Linked DNA regions of Homo sapiens: region 2 is linked to region 1. Evidence: promoter capture Hi-C in 16 types of primary human blood cells and fetal thymus (Javierre and others, 2016). All regions are on one chromosome and are shown on one strand. The core of a region is centred on a gene start or on the middle of the fragment in contact, and the rest is flanking DNA. Distances in the headings are between cores, read along the strand shown. Region 1 holds the start of CDHR1 (cadherin related family member 1). Region 2 overlaps CCSER2 (coiled-coil serine rich protein 2).

Region 1 (5,577 bases), core at 902-3,401:
AAGGAATGTGTGATGTGTGAGTGAGAGGCCTAGAAGCTGAAGCTTCAGTAGATTCAAGATCATCTTCTTCTGCCATGAAAAGGGTTTGAACCAGGCGGGCACAGTGGCTCATGCCTGTAATCCCAGCACTTTGGGAGGCCAAGATGGGTGGATCACCTGAGGTCAGGAGTTCAAGACTAGCCTGGCCAACATGGTGAAACCCCGTCTCTACCAAAAAAAAAAAAAAGAAAAAAAATTTGCTGGGCATGGTGGCGTGCACCTGTAATGCCAATATTTGAAAGGCTGAGGCAGGAGAATCACTTGAACCTAGGAGACAGAGGTTGCAGTGAGCTGAGATCCGCCATTGCACTCCAGCCTGGGTGACCGAGTGAGACTCCAGCTCAAAAAAAAAAAGAGTTTGAACCTTCTTTGGAGCCAACCCAAACTGTATGTGAATCCAAGCTCTGCACCTCAGAGAGAATAAGTCACTTGCTTGGTCGTACACAGCCAATGAGGAAATCTCCCTCCTCTGCAAAGCAGAGAAAATCACATTGGGAGAGCAGTGCAGGTCAAATAAGATAATATGGGCAAATATACATAAGCACACATACAGCACATGGCATGTAGGCTACTCCTTCCCCTTCCCTCTCCAGTGCATGGCTGTTGACTGAGGGAACTGAGGAGAGAGAAATCAACGGCCCTAGATTGGTGAGGAGCAGGGCTAACAGGACCCAGGGAGAGCTGGCTTTTCTCGGCCCACCAAGACATCTACTCCAGGAAACCTTGGCTCTGCCTCTGGCTCCTGGGAAATCCACGGCAAGACTCAGTCTCCACATCCCTATATGGGACTTGCAGAATACTTGCCTTAGCTTTGTCCCAGCACTTTGGGAGGCAGATTCAGAACATCTGTGCAATTTAAAGTGTGTCTTTTCAGCAAAAGAGCCAAGCCTAAGGAGACTCAACAAGGGTTTCGGCCAATTAGGCCTGAAAACTGCTGCACATTCTAAAACCATTGATTCATCTTCCTTCTTCTCTGCAAATCCCTGACCCTTGCTCACAGTAGATCATGTAGGGCTAGACCAAGGGATGGGGGGTGCTCTGTTCCCTCAAAGGCCCCTGGCAGGGGGAGGGGGGGAATGCTGAGTCCTCAGCTGTGGAGACCTCTCCCAGGAGCACACAGAGGAGGGATCTCCTCTATCTGAGAACACATCCACCCAAGGGCATCCTGGGAAGTGGCCTGGCTTGGGCTTGAAGTGACCTGTACCCCCATAAATGGCCCAACCAGGAAAAGGAAAACAGGCTGCATTTCCAAGCACCCTCCAGTGTCAGAGCAGGAGAACGAGGAAGCCCAAGGAGCTTTACCAGCAGCCAAAAAGGTTCCTGGGCTTACCTGTGTCTTCAAGTTATCAGCATCCAGGACCCCAATAGCAGTGCCTTGCTTTGTGTAAATACCCTCTAGGAATGAGATCTCGTGCCTCTCGGGCAGTTCAGATCTATCTTGGCCAGCTCTGTGCAAGTCTGTCCTAAGATGGGGCTTAACTCTGCCTTCAGGCCCTTCACTCTTCCTTGGAAGGTTTGAAGAGTGGGTCAGCTGCCCCTTCATGGTCCCAGACTGGGCACTGACTGGGAATGGGGAGCAGAACTGCCTCTCACCCTGGTGGACACCTGAGGGTCCTCCCTGCTGCCCACCACACAGATCAGACCCTTTGGGAGAGGTGGTCCAGCCTGGGGAACAGGGCAGGAATGGGTTGAGATCACAGAGAGGGGGTCCTGATAACCCCTTACCATCTGCTGCCCATCCATCACCCTTTCTCTTTGCCTTTGGTCTCACGCGGCTTATAGAACCTGCTTAGACTGCTAAGGCAAGGCCCTCTCGGCCGCTCCACTAACTTTTCTTCTGGAATGCTTAGCTCAGAGAAGACAGCTAAGCCCCTGAAAGTCACAGAGGAAGTTGATGAGAAAAGAAAACTGCGAAGCCCAAGCCCCACCAGGACTTAAGTACCCTGGGAAAGCCTCAGGACAACTTGGGGGAAAGACACTCCTGTCCCCCATGGTGTCCTCCTGTCCAGGACTGGGGGCCGCCGGCAAAGGGGGCGTGGCGGGCGGGGAGTCCTCTTGTCACGCCCTCCTGCCCCCGCCCGCGGCTGGGAGCCTGTCGCTCCGCTCTGCGCCGCTAATTGGTCTCGTCAGGCGGCCGGCAGGAGCAGATCCGAGCCGTGTCATCCTCTTAGCGCCCTCACGCCACCCGCCGCTCCCGCCCCGTGCCCCCTCCCGCCGCGGCTGCAGTCGCCGCTACCCCCATTGTGGTCTCTGCCCTCCCCGCGGGCCCAGGGCATGCTCCGTGCCCCTGCGCCCGGTCTCGGCGGCGGCAGGCGACACTCCGCGCCGGCGGAGACATGAGGCGCTGCCGGTGGGCCGCCCTGGCCCTGGGGCTGCTGCGCCTCTGCTTGGGTGAGTGGCCGCTGGGCCGCGCTGGCCGCGTGGATGGCGAGGGAGATGGGCGCTGGCGTCACCCAGGTGGCCAGAGGGACATGGTCCTGGACCACTTCCAGAGTGGGACTCGGGCTGGTGGACGGGAGCGGAGAAGTCCTTCCATCTTCCTGGCCCATTCGGTAGTGGGGAGTGGGGTAGCGGAGTAGTGGGGAGCTCCGGGGCGCTTCTCCAGAGCTGGCATCCTAGGGCCCCAGGGTTTGGCGCCCGGACCCCCGCTGCTCTCCGCTTGCTGGGAACCAGAGCTGTAGGCTTGGTGGCAGCTCCGATGCTGCGTGGGGCAGGAGATAGTGCCCTGACTCGCGGCTTGACCTTGGCTGGGCTGGGGCACTGCCCCTCTCCGAGCGCGGGTGCAATCTGCCCATTGATGAAGGAGGGGTTGGATTGCTACCTGGGTTCTAAGCGCCCACATGCTACGTGTCCCTGACAAGCCCGAGCCCACCGGGGGCGGAGTGGGGGTCAGGGGCATCCTCTGGGCGGCGCCCCAGTGGGGTCCCTCGGTGCACTTGGGTTGGGGAGGCGGAGCGCCCTCCTGCCCAGTAGCTGGGCCTGACGCGGGACCGCGCTGGTGCGAAGCTCCCTCCTGGTGTCTGGGTGTCCTTTGCCTGGGTGTCCGTCTGTTCTGTGTTCTTTTTCCAGCTCAGGCCAACTTCGCCCCGCACTTCTTCGACAACGGGGTCGGCAGCACCAACGGAAACATGGCTCTGTTCAGCCTCCCAGAGGACACCCCTGTAGGTGAGTAGCCCTGGCACCTGCTCCCGATAGGTCTCCCTGAGGGGTGCAGGCAGACTTAGAACACAAAGTGCCCCAGGCACCACCCAAGTTGCTGCGCGCGCCCGGGGGCTCCTTGTTTGCTCTCCGAATTCCCCTGGGCAATGGCAGGAAAGAAGGTCATTGCTGCCATGGCGACTTAAGTCTGGCCAGTCCTGGAGACCAGGGCTCCCCCCCACAGACAGGGTCGCCCCGCGAGGCAGGCAGCTACAGCTGCCCCTTATGGCTGTGTGACCTTGAACAAATGTATTTACCTCCCTGAGCCCCAGGTCTCTAGGCTTTAAAACGGCCTAAGAACATCCAACTTGCTGAGATATGCAGAGAGAGGGGAGGAGAAAGGGGAGATTTCACACTCCTTCTCCCTCACTTTGTGGGTAGTGGGAACCCGGGGAAAAGGGAGAGCAGAGCAAAGTAGGCACCTGGCTCAGAAATCCCTGCAGAACCAGGTCCAGGCATCGGGGACAGTGGTGCACTGTGGGTCACCCCTCCTGCCTTAATGGCTGCTCCCATTTCCCCTTCCCTGTACCCAGGAGCCCCTCAATCTTGGATCCTGAGAGAGGAGTTATTACCAGGCTGAGCAGAACATAGGCACTACAGTTAGGCACGGCAGACCTGCACCTGCTCTGTAACCCGTGTTATAGATTACAATCTGGAAAGTGGCTGATCATCACAACCACCCGCTGTGAAGAATAAACATACAAAGAGGGAAGCAGCCAGCAGGGGTGAGGCCAGCAATGAGCACCAAGTTCAGGGCAGTACCTTTGGCACTGAGTTGAATAGTCACTTTATAAACAGCTGAATCGTTGGTCCTGAGCATCTGCCACTTTTAGGAAAAGTTGGGTCTCAGATTCTATGTCTCTCCACTGTGTTTCCTTCCAGGCTCTCACGTATACACCCTGAATGGGACAGACCCTGAGGGAGACCCCATCTCCTACCACATCAGCTTTGACCCCAGCACTAGAAGCGTCTTTTCTGTTGACCCCACTTTTGGAAACATCACCCTGGTTGAAGAGCTGGACAGAGAGGTATGGGGAGGTGTGGGGAGTGCTGCGGGGCCACTGCCTGTAGACAGACCTCGGTGGGCTGAAGTTCCCCTGGAGCACATTGGTTAGAACCTCTCCACAGAGTAGGGGATGAGGGGGCACACCCCAGGCACATCCACTCTGTGAGATCTCTGGGCCACTTCCCATCAGCAGAGTGGGCTTTACTTTCATGCTCCTCCTTCACACAGAGCGAAGAGTGGGCTCCTTTAACGAGCACCTGCCAGCCCTGCTAATCTTTTAAGCATGTTCCATTAAAAATAAATCCGTTTGCACTTTGAGGTTTCTGAAAGAAACCTCACAAAGTGATTTTTCAAGCCTGTCCTGGGAGAGGCACAGGAACTCAGAGCAGGTCAAGGCTGGAAAGGGTGGTTGGCAGTGAGTCTGAGTTTGGCAGAGCTCCTCCACTCTACACACTTGAGAACTTGCAGGCAACAGGGCATGGGCTTTTTCAGACCGCATAGCAGCCTGGTGTGTGGCTAACTGGACCTCAGCTGTGGGGATGCTGCCAGCTCGTGACAGCCTCCACTAGCTGCAGGACAGGGTAGAGAAAGGAAAGGGAGGTCTCAGGGACTGCTGTGGGGACACAGCAGTGGAGCCTGACTGTGCTGCCAGTACCCCACTCCCTGGCACCCGCGGGATCTGGCAACATCCGATACCCTTCCCCATTGAGGTCTCACCATATCCTGGGAGCACTGAGACACCATGGATGTGAGCCTCTGCAGAGCCCTGGAATGTGGAGAGGTGTGGAGAGAAAAGGGGAGAAAAGGGAAAAGAAAGAGGAAAAGTCTTTATGGGACCTTGAGCACACTAAGGTCGACATCTCGCCTCACTGTGGCAGGAGAGTATTTTCTGTTGGAGCCCCAACAGACCCTCTGGGTCTCTGAGTTTATAAGAACCCCGGACACAAAAGTCCCAAAATAAGGTCTCAAGCATGGGGGGAGGCAGCTTTCTACTCTGCCAGGCATGCTGTCACCACCACTTACCCTGCTCCAGGGATCTATTGGCACGCCCAGACCTCCTCTGATGGGTGCGTGGGGCAGGGAGAGCTCCATCCAGCCACAGGGGTCCTATGGCGTGTCAGACTCCTGGACACTCACTCAGTCCCTGTGCTTCACAGAGGGAAGATGAGATTGAAGCCATCATCAGCATTTCTGATGGCCTGAATCTGGTGAGTGCACGTCCAAGGCAGTCCCTGGCAGCCTGCAGTATTTGGGCCTGAGAAGGGTGAGGCTGGCACGATTCCTCCCCAAGCCTTCATGGGGGCTTTTCTGCAAGTTTAAGCTAGGGCCCAGCA
Region 2 (7,772 bases), core at 3,719-6,218, 320 kb after region 1:
GAAGTCTTAAATTGCTTTAAGAGTTTTAACTTGGAACTAGAATATCTTACCATGTTTGAGGGTGAAAAGGAAAAACAAATCCCCATTCAACCAACCAATTGATCGTGCCTCCTTCCTAATTACTTTTTATTCCCTTTGGTAGATTTTGGTTTGTTTAATATGGTCCTGCTCTATTTTTTCACTAATCTTTCAAGGTTTTTGATCACTTTGGCACGGTCATTTTTATCTAGGGAACCCCAGGGAGAATCTGTTGATTTAATTATGTGGTGATTTTAGTATCTTCCGTTTTGCGGGACAGTTCATTCATTTTTGTGTTGATGTGCTGTGAAAATACCCAGTGACTTTAAAGTCTGGGATATTTAGCTTGAGGCAGCAATTGAGCTGACTTGTTTATTTCAAACATTCTGCAATACGATTTGATGTGACATATTTCTGTACAGATTAATTTTGAGTAGTCACTGTCTTGATTTTTTTTTAATGCAAGTCAGCTGTATGCCATCATAGCCAACCATCCTCCATGAGTTGATGAGCCTTGCCCTCAGTCACTCCCAATCCAGCCATAATCTAATCCCTGGCTGCTGATCCTGGGCAGCCATTGTCCAGTGCTGGTCAGGGAGGTGGAAGAACTGAAAAAAACACAAATGATGCAGTATAAATAGATCCGCCCCTTCTATTGGGGAAATTAGAGCTACTATGTAGATTTATTTGTGGATTAGCATAGCAAAAAAAACTTATTAGTGAGAAATGGCCCTCTGAATTTCATGTTGTAAAGCCCTTTGCCAAAGTTTTTGACATTTTAGCCCACATTATTTAAACAGTGTGTGTGTGTGTGTGTGTGTGTGTGTGAGAGAGAGAGAGAGAGAGAGGAGAGAGATAATGCATTTGTAGCAAATACCCCTGTATCAGGACAGGCCCAGTTGGCCCTGCCCATATATTTTAACTATTTGGGCCATTGAAAGATAGCTTTCAGATTTGTATTTTTTACTGGATACCCCCAAATCATGGAAATGGCATAGTTCCTCTGATTGTTTTTGAAACATAACTACACAATGAGCTTCAGGGAAGTACATGTGAGGCACACAGACCCTAAGAACCTTGTCATAGGCTTCTGTTCTTTAGTTGCAGTTAGAGGCAACTTCACATTTGTTTTACTCTGAGCCATCATTCAAAAGGCTGATTATTCTAAATTTAAGTAAATGAATGTTTACTTTTCATTAGGGTAGATCTGTTTTTCACATGTCAGCCATAATAGGAGTGAGACAGAACAAATAAACTTTGAAACATTTTATTTGGAAACTTTTCAACAAGAATATTAAAAATAGGTTAGCATTAGCTAAATGTCTCGACCTATATTTGTTAAATAAATAGAATTTCACATAAACTGAGAATATAGTGATTTACTCTAAATCTTGTTTATCTGCTGGTGCTTTTCATTCTTGACAGAAGAACAACACTTGTTAACATGGTGTACAACTTTTTTTTTTAACTTTAATGTAAGTAGTATTCCGAAGGTCACCGTTAACACCTGAATGTTTTGTGGAGGTTAAACCAAAAGCTGTAGAATCATTCTGTCAAGCTCTAAGGTTTAAAATACCTAATGAATCTATTATGGCAGGAATTTTTTCTATAATAAATTAGTACTTTAATGTTTTCTTTTTCTCATTTAATTTTGGATCTTGTTCAGTGTTTACTGCCTGTATCATTTTTTGTTTGCATTATCACTCTTGTATGTGTCTAATTTGCTTGAATATTGCAGTTCATTTTTTAATTAAAAGAAACTCCACATATTTTCCATATTAAAGCCATAATAAGTACCAACACAGCCTAATTGGTATTTATATTAAATCTGGGTGGAATTTCTAAGAACTTGCTGCTAATGTTGTTTTTAATTTTAACAGCCTCAAGTACTACAGCCTTCCAGCAGCCTTCCCAGACCCACAGATCACACCCAGGGAAAACTAATAAAGCCACAACGTATCGAGGCCCGCAGTGAATGCTCAATCCAAGACATGCATCAGGGCGGTGCACATCCGGAAGAAAGCTTTACACACGTCTTGCACCAAGAAAGCAACTATGGTTTGGAAGAGCAGCCTTTTTCATCAGGCCCACAATTAACAATGGATGTGGCTAAGAGTACACCTTCTGAAGCAAACTTAAACATTACTGTAAATGCTCAAGAGCCTTATCATTTGGCAAACAATCAAATTAGTGACATGCAGTTTATACCCACTTCTCTTCAGACACCTCCCGAGTCAAGTACAGTAGACCAGGCTAAGAGAGTTGGAAGAAATCAGTCTCCGCCAGTGGGTTATATGTCTCAGCCCAAGTCCTTGCAGCTTTTAAAGCCATCCATATTGAGTTCTTTGGTACCGCCTCCAGTTTCTGAATCATCTCCAAGTAGGACTCCCACTTGTAAAAAGTCACCAATAATCACAACATGTAATTCAGCAAAACTTCAGCCAACATCTAGTCAAACAAATCTTGCAAATAATCAGAATCTGAAAGCATCTAAGCTCCGCCCCCCCTCAGGCTCTTTCAAACAAAAACAAACAAACAGCCCCCAACTAGAGCCTCAAAGCTTCCAGGCCAAGACAAGCATCCCAAGGCCACTAACACAACGAAAAGAAATCATGCAGAATCCAAATGGCAATTTGCATTCTGGGGATTGTTTGGCCTCTAATCGATATTCTCGTCTTCCTAAACCAAAGATACATTAAGTACATAGCCATCACCTGCCAATTTGTTTCTTAAAAACAATCTCTTCTGTAATAGCTTTATGTGCAGCTTGCAGCTTGCTACTGTGGTGGAGGTTCCATTGAAAGCCTGCAAATCTTAAATTAAAATGTGGAAGCTTCTACTAGTTTGGCTCCTTCATTTTATATCCTGGTTGAAGTACATGCCATTTGAGCATAATTATCTCAGGTAAACACGAAAGTTTGCTTACCCATTTCAGAGGCCTGCCAAAGGCCCAAATCATGTTATCCATCCCTCTCCACGTCAGAAAATTCATAATATTTTACTGAGCAGGCAAGAAGTGTGCTTTGCTGGTTTAGTCCTATTAAGGTCTGTATTTATTGTGGTTGTCAGAACCTCACCCCTTTTCACTTGTCTCTCCTGTGAATATGGCTACTATTTTAACTAAAGATATGGTGATAATGGAAGATGGTAGTCTGTAAGCAGAGTTCTGGCCAGTGTTTTGTATATTTAAAAGGTCTATGCAAAAGCTTTGTGATGAATAAAGGAGATTAGGCTTTTAATGGAAAGTCTATGTAAGTTTTATTTTTCCTTGCCAGGGTCAGTCAGCTAATGTTACTGTTGATTCATTTCCCAAATTCCCCAGACTGAAAGTGTTTCTTATTACATATAAATCAGTTATATATTCCTTTACATCTTGTTTTACAAACACATGTGCATGCACACACACATATACACACACATACCATTTATGTTTGTATTTGTTACTGGGTAAATTTTGGAGCGCTTGAGATACACCTTGAAACCTGTACCTAAAGATGTATTCATTTGTAACATATGTTGGTGCTAGAGTTTTGCTGGTAATTCAGGCTTGAACCCTTAGGCTTGTGGATCCATGATAGCCATTTTAAGGTTCCACAGCATTATGTCTTTAATTGTAATATTTATATTTATTGATTTTCTGCTAATATCTGAAGACTGAAATAATGAACTTGAAACATTTGCACAAAACTTTGATGGGGTATAAATATACCATATATAGGGATTGTAAACTATTTTCTATAGCAAAACAAGTTAAAATATTTTGAGAAAAATAACAAATTTAAATAAGACTATCTTGAGAAAGCTGGAGTTCATAATATTCTCCCCCTCCCCCATCTCCAGTCTCCTAGGTTTCCCTTTTCTGTGTTTTTTGTTTTTTTCTGTTTGTTTTTTGAGACAGAGTCTTGCTCCATTGCCCAGGCTGGATTACAGTGGCGCAATCTCGGCTCACTGCAACTTCTGCCTCCCGGGTTCAAGCGATTCTCCTGCCTCAGCCTCCTGAGTAGCTGGGACTACAGGCATGTGCCACCATGCCTGGCTAATTTTTTTGTATTTTTAGTAGAGATGAGATTTCACCTTGTTGGTCAGGCTGGTCTCGAACTCCTGACCTCAAGTGATCCACCCACCTCGTCTATGGTGTATTTTTGAAAGACAATTTTTTAAAGGTAGATTTGGGAAAAAAATAGAATTGAAGATGGGAAATTTTGTTTTATTAAAAAGGTGCTAGAAGATGTTTCAAAGACAATATTCTTATTTTAATACGCTGTAGAAGGTAGGTGTGGAACCTCCATGCTACCATGTGCACAAACCTAATTATGCTTTGGGTCACTTGTCAGTTCAGTAAATCTGCCTTCCTCTTCTCCCAAATCATGTCATCTTTAGGTTGTTCACCTGCAGCTGCTTTAAATGAATTAGTATCTTTCAGATAGATAACCTTACAAGGAGAATGTTTGTTTTGAGCAGCTGACCAAAAATATATCAAACAGGATTATGGCCAAAAAGTCACTCAAATTTCTAGAGATTCCTTTAAAAGATGTATGTTGATGAAATTGCCCCTTTATAAGAAAAACAACAGCAAGTCTTTTAGTAGAAATTTGAAAGAAGTGTTTGCTACCATTTTGACCCATTATTCCCTTACCTATCAGATGAATTTGCCATTCACTGGATAGAAACCATTCTTGGATTTGGTAAGAGGTGAGCAAGACAAATCTTGTACCATACTCTTATGTACCAGCACTTCTGATGGAGAAGCAGTGAAGTTCAGAACGTTCTTCACATAGTCCAGATACTGTTAGAGTCAGGCAAATCAGCAAAGCACTTTGTTATGGAGATGACCCATGATGGCTGCAGTTGTAAGTGGGCATACATGTTCTATCATTTTGAAGGAGAAAGAAAACCGTTCTCACATGTTGCAAATATGTGAATCATACTATATTCCCCTAAAGTAAAACCAGTGACTTAGTGGTTTTTGGTTTATTTAGAAGTTGGTTTAGACCCTTATGAAACATTATTTACGAGTTGGCCTTATCCTTAAGGGAAAAGTTCTAAATTTTTAAATTTATTTTTAATTCCCTAGTCTGAGGGAAATGTCTTTATTGTCCATTACATAAAAATGTTGACTCCAGTAATTTATTTTTCTCTATTTTTTCCTCCATGTATTTACTCCATTTTTCTCTATTTTTTCCTTCCCTGATGGATTTGCAGAAATGTTAACCAATTAGCTCAACTTTTCTCTACCTTTGTTGAGTCTTAATCTTTTAGAAGATAGGCTTATCGTATATTTATGAAGCATAATATATTAAAAGAAAACAAATCTAGGATGCTTGCATGACATAAAGTATTTGCCTGCAGTTTTCATTAAAAACTGCAAGAATATCATGCTTGTCTGCTTCTTAGTAAATGTTAAGTCTGAAATGGAAGTGAGGATGTAACTCTACTGAATAATCAAAGATCATCTTAGATTTGGCTTGATCTGTGTTTATTGCTTCTATTAATGTAAATCAACTCTGTGCCAAATCCTCCTCCACAAACCATTTATTGTCTTAGTTCTAGTGGTATCAATGAAGATAGTTACAGTATATGAATTCTAAGTCCTGAGGAAGAAATTTTATGGGGTTTGTTAAGTTTCACATTCGTGAAAGAGGAAATTAGTAGAGTATTCAGACTTTGATATTTGGCTGTTAATGGGATGCATATCAAATTTTTAAAAGAAGGCTTGGCCTAAGGAGTTTATTGGTACAGGTGCAGATGATTTTAAGGCATTAAAGGATTATAGAGTTATGTCATTTAGACTGTTTCTAATAACTGAGACCATCTAACATTTTTCTTTTGGAGTCTCATTTTTATTTGTGCAATATTTTCAGGCATATAGGCTACTGTTCATTGTATTTATATATATATTAGAATTTACTAAGTACTTTAACAAGTAAAAATCTGAATATGAAAGAAAATATCAGATTTGCACTTTAAATGAGCTTAATTGCTTGAAGTTGTGCCTGAAATATCGAATTGCCTCCTATTGGGTGTGGCTTTGTTGAAATAAATTTGTAATTGTTGCTGTTTGAAGATATCAGTACAGCTGTTCACAGAAATATATTCCCAGCATGTCACTTTTCCATTAAAGCACTAAGTTTTCTTTGAATGTTCCATTGTTCCGATAAGTATTTTACTTTTTTCTCAGTACATCAGAGAGAGCGTGATCCCCCTACAGCTGTCACTTCCAAATGTTCCTGTAGCATAAATGGTGTTACAGACACTGAGGTGCACTCTTGGTTTCTGAGCAGAGTTGTCATACTGGTTTCCTGGTCTCTAGGGCACTGGGGATGTACTTTGAAATCACCGAACAGGCTTGCAATTAAGATCAATAAGGCTGCAGCACCATTTCAATTTACTTTCCATCTTACCCAGTAGTTTTTGTGTTTTTAAATTCGTTTGGGTGGTTATGTTTGCATGCTTAAGCACACATTTGAAAATTAATTATAGCTGTACTACCCGATGTTTTTCCTTGGGGATGATGGCCTTGTTCCTTTTTAAATTCTGATGCTTGAATTCTATTTTCTAGTGATTTTTCACATCTCCCTTTAAGTTTTTGCTGCAGCAATTTGAGAGAGTACTTTTGATTAAATGATTCTGATGGTGGGCACCAATCTACAACTATGTCATTAACTGAAGATACATGTTTTAATCTTGTTGGGAATAAGCTTACCCACTTTCTCCTTGGTAAAGCGTTTACTTAACAAAATAATACCCGAGAATGTAAGGTCTCTAAGTCATTACTAACAAAGAGCAAAAATAATATCTGCAGTATTGTTTTTCCCATTGATTTTAAGTCAGTTTAGAGTACAAACTGTATATTAGAATTTGCCTGTAAAATGAATTCTAAAAAGCAGATGTAAAGTCTCTCCTGAAAATGTTGGCATAGTAAATAAAAATAAAGTTCATAATTATAAAAGTTCTCTTGTCTTTCTCAACATTGACTCCCATAGTTTGCTTTTTCTTTGATATCTTTTTTCCCACAAAGATCTAAGATACTGTTCATTTGCTTATGTTTTTCCCAACTCTGATACTTTATTTTACATGCTGCCTTCACACACATCTTGACACCCCAAGCCCTGATTGAGTAGGAGTTGATCAGTATTTTGTTGTTGTGTCTTCACAAATTCTGTAAGAGATCTAGTACTTTCGTTTCCATTGTAATAAAATACCTGCTTTATCTTAGAATATTGGGATAATGGTTAATGGACATTTCAAGAAACATTAGCACCTTGGATTTAGAATGCTGTACAAGGAAGAAAACACTTGTAATTTTAATTATTTTGTCATTGTTTTTAAGCAGTATACAAAATAGCTTGAGGCAAGAAAGGTGTTTAGTGAAATTTTACATAATTTTTAGGAACAAAAGGAGTAAGGAATATATATTTTTTCAGTTTTACAGTTTAGTCAGATGCGATAGTCCCGTAATAAGAGACAAAAAAGTTGATGCAGTGGTATGTTATTAATCCAAAATGTTTACACGAATTCTGGGAAAGGAGGGAAATTTTATTAATAGTTTGATAATAGCACTTATTACCTCTTAAGACACCTGTATGAACTTTAAGGCCATCTGAGTTCTTAGTGTTGCAGAATTTTGCTCCTTAGGTCGGCTAAATCGGGGTTCTTGTGTCAGGACCAGGAAAATGTAGACACATGGACACATTGAAGTGTGTGGGGAATGGAATTCATTGGGCAAAAAGGAAAAAAAAACTCAGCAAAGCAAG

The links. Contacts are between HindIII fragments. The CHiCAGO score rates a contact against its expected background, and 5 or more counts as called.
Region 2: a contact is called between a fragment that was not itself captured here and the fragment with the promoter of CDHR1 in region 1, in 1 of 17 cell types (neutrophils). The highest score is 6.1, in neutrophils.

Annotation. Positions count from the first base shown.
Region 1 is chr10:84,192,386-84,197,962 of GRCh38, forward strand. It overlaps CDHR1 (cadherin related family member 1), which reads left to right and starts at 2,152. Exons shown (of 17, transcript NM_033100.4): 1 at 2,152-2,430; 2 at 3,109-3,204; 3 at 4,120-4,265; 4 at 5,401-5,451. The coding sequence starts at 2,376. RefSeq lists silencers at 2,048-2,177, 2,248-2,367. The HindIII fragment of the contact is 5,936 bases long and covers 41-5,577 here.
Region 2 is chr10:84,511,551-84,519,322 of GRCh38, forward strand. It overlaps CCSER2 (coiled-coil serine rich protein 2), which reads left to right. Exons shown (of 10, transcript NM_001284240.2): 10 at 1,899-6,967. The coding sequence ends at 2,717. Among named protein-coding and RNA genes, the nearest start is that of CCSER2, 190 kb to the left of the region's middle. RefSeq lists a silencer at 929-1,129 and an enhancer at 2,863-3,032. The HindIII fragment of the contact is 3,492 bases long and covers 3,223-6,714 here.